Linked DNA regions of Homo sapiens: all the other regions are linked to region 1. Evidence: promoter capture Hi-C in 16 types of primary human blood cells and fetal thymus (Javierre and others, 2016). All regions are on one chromosome and are shown on one strand. Each heading gives the region's core, a stretch centred on a gene start or on the middle of the fragment in contact. The rest is flanking DNA. Distances are from core to core; before and after follow the strand shown.

What was found. The method cuts DNA at HindIII sites, captures the fragments that hold promoters and counts their contacts. A CHiCAGO score of 5 or more calls a contact.
Region 2: a contact is called between the fragment with the promoter of OR5T2 here and the fragment with the promoter of OR4C16 in region 1, in 5 of 17 cell types (monocytes, naive CD8 T cells, neutrophils and 2 more). The highest score is 5.9, in monocytes.
Region 3: a contact is called between a fragment that was not itself captured here and the fragment with the promoter of OR4C16 in region 1, in 1 of 17 cell types (M0 macrophages). The highest score is 5.2, in M0 macrophages.

Annotation. Positions count from the first base shown.
Region 1 is chr11:55,570,793-55,574,982 of GRCh38, forward strand. OR4C16 (olfactory receptor family 4 subfamily C member 16) reads left to right here and starts at 1,336. Exons shown (of 1, transcript NM_001004701.2): 1 at 1,336-2,268. The coding sequence starts at 1,336. The coding sequence ends at 2,268. The HindIII fragment of the contact is 18,539 bases long and covers 1-2,227 here.
Region 2 is chr11:56,232,399-56,236,823 of GRCh38, forward strand. It overlaps OR5T2 (olfactory receptor family 5 subfamily T member 2), which reads right to left and starts at 1,857. Exons shown (of 2, transcript NM_001004746.4): 1 at 1,779-1,857; 2 at 1-866. The coding sequence starts at 664. The HindIII fragment of the contact is 5,726 bases long and covers 1-4,425 here.
Region 3 is chr11:54,877,043-54,881,331 of GRCh38, forward strand. No RefSeq gene overlaps it. Among named protein-coding and RNA genes, the nearest start is that of OR4A5, 170 kb to the left of the region's middle. The HindIII fragment of the contact is 684 bases long and covers 1,743-2,426 here.

The sequences.
Region 1 (4,190 bases), core at 86-2,585:
AGTGGAGAAACACAATGGGCTTCCAGACTATATTTAAATAAATTACACTTTGGTTTATATTTCTACTTGCATATTATGTACTGTCTAGTGTCATCTTGACAACAAAAATGTAGAGAATTTATTTTTCTTGAAAGAGAAGCCTTGTGATAATATTAGTTTCCATATATTCTTAAAAACTGATCTTCACTGGGAAAAGTGACATTTCAAAGTTGAAGCACTGACTTTTCCATGATAGAAAATAAATTGAATGAAGAAGGTATTTAGTATCTACTCTCTCTTCTCTAAAACCACATCACCTTCTTTCCTCCAAATCTCTGCTCTGTTCCAGGAATGTGCAGTTTTTGAATATCAGGATAATGAAAACTCTTCTGGGGATTACAAACATGATCTGGTTCAATGATAACACTTCAAACCACCCCACTTATAAAATGCTTTCTTGTTTTCATGATTCTAATATTTAGTTTGAATTGTGAAAACAAACAGTTGAGTAGTAATACTGTACCCCACCCTCATCTTATTTAAATGTAACCTCAGAAACTCTGTGTGTTCTAGGGATGCTTTCAATAAATTAAAGGAAGAAAATTAGAAAGGGGGATATTAAAGAGATAACTAATTTTCAAAGAACATTCATTCCTGTTTATTAGTATATGTCAGGACAAAATGTTATAAGGACACATCAAGGTAGCAACAGATTATTTAGAGGCTATAAGTGTTTTCGTTTACTTTTTATAATCTGGAATATCTGGGAGAAATTTTGCAGAGAAGTGGAGCATACAAGGTATTAATAAATAACATCTATATAAATATATATAATGAATATGGAATGTATAAACTATGTATTAATAAGATATTATCTACAGGGTGGTGGTGGCATAGGACTTCATATTGTAAAACTCAAAGAGCAGCTAAATATATCTTAAATGTTGAGTGATACACAACATAAAAAATGGCCCTCAGTATTTATTGAAAATTATAAAATGAAATTTAATATTAAAATGGATCATTACCTCTTACATTTACCTTCCTTGAATTGGAAAAATTAATCAGAATGATGCCAAAGCTAACCAAGGCTTGTACTTGAAGAATGCTATAGCAAGGTATCATGTTCATAAGCATATTTGAGAATCATAATAACCCTATGAAGTGGTCATTAAAATTTGGAAGAAAGTGTTGAAGTGGCTTATTAAGAAACCGCCACCAGAATGTATCCAATAAGAAATATTTAATTTTGCATAAAATATTCCATAACATCACATAGCACAGCATAAATTAATTCCTTTTTTTTTTGCAGGTAGACCATTTCACACTTGCCCCTTCACCTCACTCACGAAAACCATGCAACTGAATAATAATGTGACTGAGTTCATTCTGCTTGGATTGACACAGGATCCTTTTTGGAAGAAAATAGTGTTTGTTATTTTTTTGCGTCTCTACTTGGGAACACTGTTGGGTAATTTGCTAATCATTATTAGTGTCAAGACCAGCCAGGCACTTAAGAACCCAATGTTCTTCTTCCTTTTCTACTTATCCTTATCTGATACTTGCCTCTCTACTTCCATAACCCCTAGAATGATTGTGGATGCCCTTTTGAAGAAGACAACTATCTCCTTCAGCGAGTGCATGATCCAAGTCTTTTCATCCCATGTCTTTGGCTGCCTGGAGATCTTCATCCTCATCCTCACGGCTGTTGACCGCTATGTGGACATCTGTAAGCCCCTGCACTACATGACCATCATAAGCCAGTGGGTCTGTGGTGTTTTGATGGCTGTGGCCTGGGTGGGATCCTGTGTGCATTCTTTAGTTCAGATTTTTCTTGCCCTGAGTTTGCCATTCTGTGGCCCCAATGTGATCAATCACTGTTTCTGTGACTTGCAGCCCTTGTTGAAACAAGCCTGTTCAGAAACCTATGTGGTTAACCTACTCCTGGTTTCCAATAGTGGGGCCATTTGTGCAGTGAGTTATGTCATGCTAATATTCTCCTATGTCATCTTCTTGCATTCTCTGAGAAACCACAGTGCTGAAGTGATAAAGAAAGCACTTTCCACATGTGTCTCCCACATCATTGTGGTCATCTTGTTCTTTGGACCTTGCATATTTATGTACACATGCCTTGCAACCGTATTCCCCATGGATAAGATGATAGCTGTATTTTATACAGTTGGAACATCTTTTCTCAACCCTGTGATTTACACGCTGAAGAATACAGAAGTGAAAAGTGCCATGAGGAAGCTTTGGAGCAAGAAATTGATCACAGATGACAAAAGATAAATGAAGGTTTCAAATCCTTCTTTATAGTTTGGAGTGACCTAGAAGAAATCAATGAGAATATTATATTTTTATTGTTGATTTAATGTAATCCTGCCTTGGTACATGAGGATTAGTTCCTTTGGGAAAAGAGACAGTGTAAACAAATAACAATGGTTAATGTTGAGTCAGTTTTATGTGGCAGAAAAGACAGCATGCAATACAAACTAGTATGTAAAGCTCATTGCCTTCAGTGCTATTCACTCCTGTGTCTCTGGTCCTCCTGCCTGCTTAGTGTCACTTATGGTTTAGGTCTGTAGTTTGCCTGTTCTTCTCCATGTTGACTTCTGGAATTCCCTGCTAATATTTACCCATCTAAATATAAACAGTCCAATAGGATTTTTCCCCTTCTTAATGGTTTTCTTTATTAGACACATTGGATTCTTCATACCTCATGATCAACTTAGTTGTTCTTCCTGACTCAACAGGAAGTACCATATTTCAGTAATTGTAGGAGCTTCATGTTGCAAGAGACAATATATATGACCTAGGAAATCTCCCTTCCAATTTTTTGAGCTGTATGCTGAAATCTTTCTATAAGTTTACCTAGATACTTCTAAAACCATGACAGAACAAAGAAAGAAAATTTACCCTTCTGAAAGAGTTCTTGATCTTAGGAAGACTCTCACAGTTTGTGTTGTAGTCATGTAATTATTCTTTTTGTAAAATGACTTTATGGTCCTAATTGATCCCTTCTAATTTTGGGGACTGGTTTGCTTTACTACATTTGGCCTGATTATTTGTATATAGTGCAGGAAGAATAATTATTCTTTTACAAATGCTTTTAAATTGGCTTTGATGGAACTTAGTTCCATAGAAGAAATTTCAGGTGAGACTTTTTAAAAACTGAGGCCAGCCAAGGATTTGTGCCATCAAACATCTATGAGTTGGGTGATCCTCTACTCTTGAGGTTCCAAGATAAACTTGGGGCTTGTCAACATGTCAGAAAGTGACATTCTTACCACATGTTAAGAACCCTGTACAGAAACTGTGTGGACAAAGGTGATATAAGGCCAGTTTCCCAAGCGGATTTATTGGCTCCTTAAGTCAAGTTTGATTCCTTAAAGAAACAGGCACCATTCCAGTTAAAACCTTGGTAAAATAACCAGTTACTCCAATCGTGTCATGTTATAAATGAAAACAGATGCTTATTACACTTATGTAAATAACTGTACTGCCATAAATTAAGACTACACACAAATAGTTTCCAAATTCTGGAGAAATTAGTTAGAGAGGAACAAATATGCTCCAAATTTTTTCATAGGAGTATACTAAATTGTTAAAAGCTGTTACTAGCTCCAAAGAAAATTTTTAAGACCTCAAAGACAAAACACAGGATTAGCAAACACTTTAGGCAAAAAGTCTAATAGATTGGTTCAGTCGATGTAGTTAATTCCTGTTCTGCTTGATAGTCATGAATATTTTAGCACTCCATGATCCCTGAAAGTTTTTCCTCTATTCTGATGTCACAATTTCCAAAGTTGTTAGAAAACTCCATTCACTAGCACCTGTTAGAGTTTTATAGTTGATTATAAAACAACCTTTTAAAGAGGACCAAAACAAGACAACAAGTGTCCATGAACGAAAAAAAGTTTTAAGGCAGCCATTAGTCAAACATACAATTGACAAGAAAATTTGTTACTCCTAAGGCACATGGTAATTTTAACATAATAGTTATGATTATTACAGATAATATACACTAAGTCATATCAGAATTACAGGACTTTGCCATAATTTTAAAACACATGCCTATAACATATTGATATAAATACAGCCCAAAGAAAAGCAAACACCATTTCATATTTGAAAATGCTTCCATATAATTTTTATACCAAATAAGCCAAATATATCATTTTTGGACTTTAGGGAAACTAATATCTTAAAAA
Region 2 (4,425 bases), core at 607-3,106, 660 kb after region 1:
CCAACAGAATCAAACCATAGGAGATCAGAACAATCAGGATAGTGACCAGCTCGATAGAGCCCACAAAGTAGAAGAGTAGAAGCTGGTTTGTGTGAGTGTCAGAATAAGAAATAGCAAGGAGAGGAGGGATATCACAAAAGACACGCCTAATTTCATTGGCTCCACAGAAGGATAGGCTAAATGTAGCCACTGTATGTATAGTAGCATGTAAAATGCCAGCAACATAGGAAGCATTGATGAGTGGCATGTAGACTCTGGGTGACATGCTCACTGAATACAGGAGAGGGTTGTAGATGGCTACATAGCGATCATAAGCCATTGCAGCCAAGAGAAAGCATTCTGTGGTTCCAAAACTACAAGCAAGAAACACCTGTGCTACACATCCAAGGAATGAAATGACTTTATTCTTTGTCGTAAAATCTACTAACATATTTGGGGTAATAACTGAGGAATAGCAGGCATCCACAGAAGACAACATACTCAGAAAATAGTACATGGGTTTGTGGAGCTGGGAATCCCTAATGACCACTAAAATCAGTCCTAAATTTCCCATGAGAGTGAAGAGGTAGATTGCTAGAAACAGGAAGAAGAAGATAGTCTGCAGTTCAAGATTGTCTGTGAAGCCCTTCAGTACAAATAAGGTAACTTCAGTGACATTCTTCATGTTGAAATCTAGAACAAACTTGAAGATATGCATAAAGTTACAGTTCATATTATGACAAAAAGAATGAACAACACCATGACTCAAGGGGATGTTAACTGTGCTCTTGTATATACTGTACGACATATATTCAGCAGTGCATAATTCTCTAGTAGTGAATCAGAAGACAGTGACAAACTGGTCAGCCATGTGTTCATGCCACTCACTGCAGAATCAAATGGAAGAAATGGACGTTCATTAGTTGGCTGGACTTATTCTGTTTCTAAAATCATCAGGTCTACTGGTTAATTTACCACTGAATTGTATTAAGCTGTTTATATATTAAATAATATTAAAACACACAAAAATGAGTGGCTTAAACAATCTTTGGGCATCCAAATACACAAGAGACTGTATCAGGGGACAGAGCATTGGAATACAATACCAGAATTTTAGAACTTGTAGCAATTGTGCAAAATGATTTGCTATATCTACTTGTCTATAGAATGAGAACATTAATAGTTTGTTCACAAGATTGGAGTAAATATTGAAGGAAAATTGCATTAATAAAATATAATATGTAAAATAATTTTGATTATAGAATATGCTGAATTAAGTTGGTTCTACATTCTATCAAGATTAAATCCAATGAACAGTTATGATTTTTTTCATCTGCTCATTCAAATGTCTCTGAATTATTCTTTGGAGAATGAAGAAGTTTTGTGAATTACTTGATCATTTTATGCCAAAAATAAACATGCAAATTACCATGATTCCATTTTCTACATTACAATTGTCTTAATTTTGCTTTGTGCAAATAAGATACTTCAACCAAATTTCTTGTGAGACAGGCATTTCTACTAGATGCCAAAATAAGTTATATTGGGTAAAAATTAAGTTAATATTAGCACATAGTCAAAGATTCAGAGTTATAAAGAGAAAATCACTATGATTCTTGAAGATTTAATAATATAGAATCAACTTTTTAAATTAATGCAAATCTATTTTTATGAAACAAATTTTAATGGAAGGGAGAAAACTTTAAATATCGTGAATGTAATAACGAAACACTAAGTTTGCTAAATAACAGGCATTTATTTAGCACTTGCTGCAAGAACAGACATTTCTTGTACATTACCTTATTTCACCTTTATAGCAACTTTCATAGCTAACAATTTCCAGAGCCAAGATTCAATCCCAGGTTTCTCTCATTGTACATGAAATTTTTGCATTTTTTCATGGCCTCATAAATGGCTTCATTCTGCAACTGGAACACTCTTCCTCTTACCCCTCTGCTGACCTCAGGGAAATAAAGGTAAAGCAAAACATGATTCTCGATGTATTTGTATTTTTTAAGCCATTAAATCTAGAGAAACATAAAATAAGTAGCAATCTGAAGTGACTTCTAGATTATAAAGCCAGAAAATAAATTTAAAATAAGTATTGATTGTTTTCCTTATTACTTCAAAATACAAGACCCCAGATAAATGAATAAGTCAAATGTTTTTTTGCCCTTTGTTGATATTTATTGGTAAATTCATGACCTTTGAACTATCTTTATCTATAAGAAAAATACAAGCATATACTCTATTAGGAGCACTCTTATTTATCTCTATAAGTACAAATACAATATTTTCTATTTTTTATTGTTTTCTAGTAAGTGTTGGATTTTAATTCTTAGGCATAACTCTAAATAAATCATATTTTGATGAATACACTTGATTCACATATGTAATAGTCCAGAACTGAAGTGTTTAGTTCTTGGTGTTTAGCAGCTAAAAAGTTTAGTAAAAAAAAACATAGTTATTCTTGATATTGTAGGTTCTAGCTGCCGAAATATTCTTCAAATTATCTGAAATTTTCTCTTACCTGTGGAACAGCAAATGCAGATTTAGGTATTCTATGAATATGGCTAACTTAGATTGTTTATATCTTTGTAATTGACTGTTGATGAAATCCAAGGAGATGTCCCAAGGGGAATATGCCCCAATTATCTTCTGTTTCAAAATAGCACCATGATGATTTACTTAATAATAAAAAGTAAATGATTCCGGAATAAGGCACTGCATGCTCCTACTTATTGAATCAATAGAGTTCTTTGGCTTCTGTTTAAAATGTGTCAGATTTGAATTTCCCTGATGACTACTGATGTTGAACATCTTTTCATACATCTGAAGGCCATTTGTATGTCTTCTTTGGAAAAAAAATGTATTCAAGTCCTTTGCCAGTTTTAAAATAAGATTATTGTTATTGTGGCTATTGAATTTATATATTTTGATATTAATCCCCTATTAGATATATCATTTACAAATATTTTTTGTTTGGCTGATGGTTTTCTTCATTGTGCAGAAGATTTTGACTTTGACGTAGCCCTACTTGTCTAATTTTGGTTTTGTTACTTGGCTTTTTATGTCATTGCTTGTATTTTTATGTTACATCCAACAAGTTACTGCCAAGCTGAAGGTCCTAAAGTTTTTCCTTATGTTTTCTTCTAGAAATTGTAGTTTCAGGTTTTATGTTTAAATTTTTAATCCATTTTGGGTTGGTTATTTTATATGGTATAAGACAAGGGTCCAATTTAATTTCCCATTGTGTATTCTTGGCACACTTGTGAAAGATCATTTGACTATATACATGTGGGATTGTTTCCAGGCTCCCTATTCTGTTCCGTTGGTCTATATATCTGTCCTTATTCCAGTCCCATGCTATTTAATTACTGTAGTTTTGTAATATCATTGAAATAAAAAAGTATAATACCTCTAGCTTTGTTTTTCTTTCTCAAGATTCCTTTGGCTATTTGAAGTCTTTTGTAATTGCACATAATTTTTACGATGTTTTTTCTATTTCTGTAAAACCCAGCACTAGGATTTTGCAGGAAATGCATTAAATCTGAAGACCCCTTTGGGTAATATGGAGATTTTAATTATTGCAGATCAAAACCACAATGAGATATCATCACACACCTGTTATGGCCATTATTTAAAAAAAAAAAGTATTGATAAGAATGTGGAGAAATTGGAACCCTGGTGTACTGTTGACAAGAATATAAAACAGTGCAGCCATGATTGAAAATAGTATGGAAGTTCCTTGAAACATTAAAAACAGGATTACTATACAATCCTGAAATTCTGAAACCACCTTCGCAAAATTATGACAGTAAGAGAAATCTGCCATGACTGACTTCTTCTTGCTTCTATCATCACAGGCTGTCTGTCTTTGCTCATCTCTGGGCATGGACCAAATAACTTCGGGAGAAATTTAGTTTATAGTTTAAATGATAATAGTCCTTTGCAAAAACTAAACCACCTTTGTAAAACTAATCAAAGGCACCAAGTTAAGAGGATGAGAGGAGTCTGTGTTCTGCTAAGATATAGGCCTAGTAAAATGATTACCAGCCATTTTTTCCTGGAAGTCACAAGATTTGCAGCTTCCCCAATTATTCCTGCAGATAACATAGCTATTGTAGAACCTAAGATTGGCATTTTGAGATTCTTTTCAAATATTTGTATATCTGATAGCTGGATGGCCCCACCTGGACCTCTGACTCAAACAGTCATGTGGCCCCCACCCAGAAACACACTCAACACATGAGGATCATTTTCCACATCCCTATGATTCATCCTAAACTGATCAGCAACACCCATACCCTAGCCCTCTGCCCATCAAACTATCTTTGAAAAGCACCTAACTTTCAAGCCTTCAAGGAGATTGAATTGAGTAATAACTCCCTCTCCCATATGGTGTGGCAAGCCTCATCTCTTTTGCTTATTCTCATGCATTTTCAT
Region 3 (4,289 bases), core at 835-3,334, 690 kb before region 1:
ATAACAAAGCAGTTTCTCTGAAAGCTACTTTCTTGTTTTTATCTGAAGATATGTCATTTTTCACCATAGGCCAGAAGGAGCTCCCAAATATCCCTTCATCCATTCTGCCAAAATACTCTTTCCAGACTGCTGAATTTAAAGAAAATTTTATCTCTGTGAGATCAATGCACACATCACAAAGCAGTTTCTCAAATAACTCCCTTCTAGAATTTATCATGGGATATTCACTTTTTCCCCATTGATCTGAAATAATTCCCAAATGTCCATTCACAGAACGGACAAAAAAAGTGTTTGCAAACTACTGAATCACAGAAAATTTGAACCCTGTGAGATAAATGGACACAACACAATGCAGTTTCTCAGAAAGTGTCTTTCAGTTTTTTATCCGAAGATTTTTTTTTCACCATAGGCCTCAAAACACTCCCAGATATTCCTTTTCAGATTCTTCAAAAAAAAGTGTTTCAAAAGTCCTGAATGAAAAGAAAGGTTTAACTCTGAGAGATGAATGCACATATCACAAAGCGGCTTCTCAAATAGCTTCCCTCTAGTTTTTATCCTGGGATATTTGCGTTTTTGCCATTGGCTTCAATGAACTTCAAAATATCCATTTTTAGAATGGACAAAAACAGTTTTTGCAAACTGCTTAATCCATAGAAAAGTTGAACTCTGTGAGATGAATGCACAGATCACAAAGCAGTTTCTCAGAAAGATTCTTTGTAGTTTTTATCTGAAGATATCTCCTTTTTTCACTGTAGGCCTCTATGTACTCCAATATATACCTTTGCAGATTGAAGAAAAGCAACGTTACCAAACTGGTGAATGAAAAGAATGTTTCAATTCTGATAGAAGAATGTTCACATCACCAAGCGATTTCTCAAATATCTTCCTTCTAGTTTTTACTCTGGGATAGTCCATTTCTCTCCTTTGGCCCCATTAAGCTTCCAAATTTTCCTTTGCAGATTTTAAAACACCGGTGTTTTCAAACTGCTGAATGGAAAGAAAGGTTTAACTCTGTGAGATGAAGGCACACATCACAAAGTAGTTTCTCAGAAACATTCTTTCTAGTTTTTATCTGAAGATATTTCCTTTTTCATCATTGGCCTCAATGCACTCCCAGATATCCCTTCGCAGATTCTACTAAAACAGTGTTTCCAAACTGCTGAATGAAAAGAAAGGTTTAACTCTGCTAGATGAATGCACACATCACAAAGCAGTTTCTCAGATTGATTTCTTCTAGTTTTTTTCCTGGGATATTTGATTTTTCACCATTGGCCTCAATTAGCTCCCAAATATCCCTTTGCAGATTCTACAACAACAATGTTTTCAAACTGCTGAATACAAAGAAAGGTTTAACTCTGTGAGATTAATGCACACATCACAATGCAGTTTCTCAGAGAGCTTCTTTCTATTTGTTATCTGAAGATATTTCCTTTTCACCATAGGCCTCATTGCGCACCTAAATATTCCTTCACAGATTCTGTCAAAACAGTGTTTCTGGACTGCCGAATGAAAAGAAAGTTTTATCTGTGTGAGATGAATGCACACATCACAAAGCAGTTTCTTAAGTAGCTTCCCTCTAGATTTTATTCTGGGATATTCGCTTTTTTTGCCTTTGATCTGAAATAACTCTCAAATGTCCATTCACAGAACAGACAAAAGCAGTGAATGCAACCTACTGAACCCACAGAAAGTTTGAACTCTGTGAGATGAATACACATCAAAATTCAATTTCTCAGAAAGCTTCTTTCTATTTTTTATCTGAAAATATTTCCTTTTTAACTGTAGGCCTCCATGTGCTCCCAGATATCCCTCTGCAGAATCTACAAAAACACTGTTTCCAAAGTCCTGAAAGAAAATAAAATTTTAACTCTATGAGACGAATGCACAAATCACAAAGCAGTTTCTCAAATAGCTTCCCTCTAGTTTCATCCTGGGATATATGCTTTTTGCCATTGGCCTCGATGAGCTTAAAATGTTCAATTTCTGAGTGCACAGAAACATTGTTTGCAAACTGCTTAATCCACTGAAATGTTGAACTCCTTTAGATGAATGCACACATCACAAAGCAGTTTATCAGAAAGATTCTTTGTAGGTTTTATCTGAAGATATATCCTTTTTCACCATAGTCCAATGTGCTCTCCAAAATATACCTTCAAAGATTCTACAAAAACAATGTTCCCAAACTGTTGAAGTAAAGGATGCTTTAACTCTCAGAGATGAATTCACATATCACAAAGCAGTTTCTAAGATAGCTTCCTTCTACTTTTTATCCTGGGATATTTGCTTTTTCGCCATTGGCCTCAATGAGCTCCCTAATGTACATTTGCAGAATGGACAAAAACAGTGTCGCCAAAGTGCAGAATCCAAAGAAAGGTTTAACTCTGTGAGATAAATGCACACATCCCAAAGCAATTTCTAATTAAGCTTCTTTCTAGTTTTTATCTGAAGATATTTCCTTTTTCACCATAGGCCTCAATGGGCTACCAAATATCTCTTCGCAGATGCTAGGCAAACAGTGTTTCCAAACTGCAGAATGAAAAGAAAGTTTTAACTCTGTGAGAAGAATGCACACATCACTAATCGTATTCTCAGATAACTTACTTCTACTTTTTATCTTAGGATATTCGCTTTTTTGCCATTGGCCTCAATGAGCTCCCAAATGTCCATTCCCAGAATAGACAAAAACAGTGTTCCCAAACTGCTGTATCAAAAGAAAGGTTTAACTCTGTGAGATGAATGAACACATCACAAAGTAGTTTCTCAGAAAGCTTCTTGCTAGGTTTTATCTGAAGATATTTCCTTTTTCACCATAGGCCTCATTGCACTGACAAATATCATTTTGCAGTTTCTACAAAAAGAGTATTTCCAAACTGCTGAATGAAAAGAAAAGTTTAACTCTGCGAGATGAATGCACACATCACAAATCAGTTTCTCAGACAGCTTCCTTCTAGTTTTTATCCTGGGATATTAGCTTTTTCATCTTTGGCCTCAATGAGCTCCCAATTGTCCATTTGCAGAATGCACAAAAACAGTGTTCTAAAACTGCTGAATTCGAAGAAAGGTTTAACTCTGTGAGATGAAAGAACACATCAGAAATCAGTTTCTTATAAAGCTTCTTTTTAGTTTTTAACTGAAGATATTGCCGATTCACCATAGCCCTCAATGCGCTACCAAATATGTTTTCACAGATGCTAAGAAAACAGTTTCCAAACTGCTGAATAAAAATAAAATTTTAACTCTGTGTTGTGAATGCACACATCCCAAACCAGTTTCTCATTAAGCTTCTTTCCAGTTTTTATCTGAAGATATTTCCTTTTCACCATAGCCCTCAGTCTCTATGAAATATCTCTTTGCAGATTCTAAGAAATCAGTGTTTCCAAACTGCTGAAACCAAAGGAAGGTTTAACCATGTGAGATGAATGAACATGTCACAAAGCAGATTCTCAGAAAGCTTCTTTCTAGATATTATCTAAACATATTTCCATTTTCACTGTAGGCCTCCATGCACTGCCAAATATCCTTTCAAAGTTTATGCATAAACAGTGTTTCCACACTGCTGAACAAAAAGAAAGGTTTAACTCTGCTAGATGAAGGTACACATCACAAAGTGCTTTCTCGGATAGCTTCCTCCTAGTTTTTATCTTGGGATACTCGTTTTTTCACCATTGGCCTTTAAGCTCCCAAATGTCCTTTCTCCAAATTGACAAAAACAGTGTTACCAAACTGCTGAATCCAAAGAAAGGTTTAACTCTCTGAGATGAATGCACACATCCAAAACCAGTTTCTCATTAAGCTTCTTTCTAGTTTTATCTGAAGATATTTCCTTTTTCACCATAGGCCTCAATGCACTGCCAAATATCCTTTAATAGTTACTACAAAAACATTGTTTCCCAACTGCTGAATGAAAAGAAGGGTTTAACTATGCCAGATGAATGCACACATCAAAAAGTGGTTTCTTAGAGAGCTTCCTTCAGTTTTTATCCTGGGATATTCCCCTTTTTGCCATTGGCCTCATTGAGCTCCCAAATGTCCATTCACAGAATTGTCAAAAGCTGTGTTATCAAACTGCTGACTCCAAAGAAATGTTTAACTCTGTGAGATGAATGCACACATCCCAAACCTGTTTCTAATGAAGATTCTTTCTAGTTTTTATCTGAAGATATTTCCTTTTCCAGCATAGGCCTCCATACTCTTCCAAATATCTTGTCACAGATTATAAGAAAAGAGTGTTTGCAATCTGCTGAATGAAAAGAAAGTTTTAACTGTAAGATGAATGCACACATCAGAAA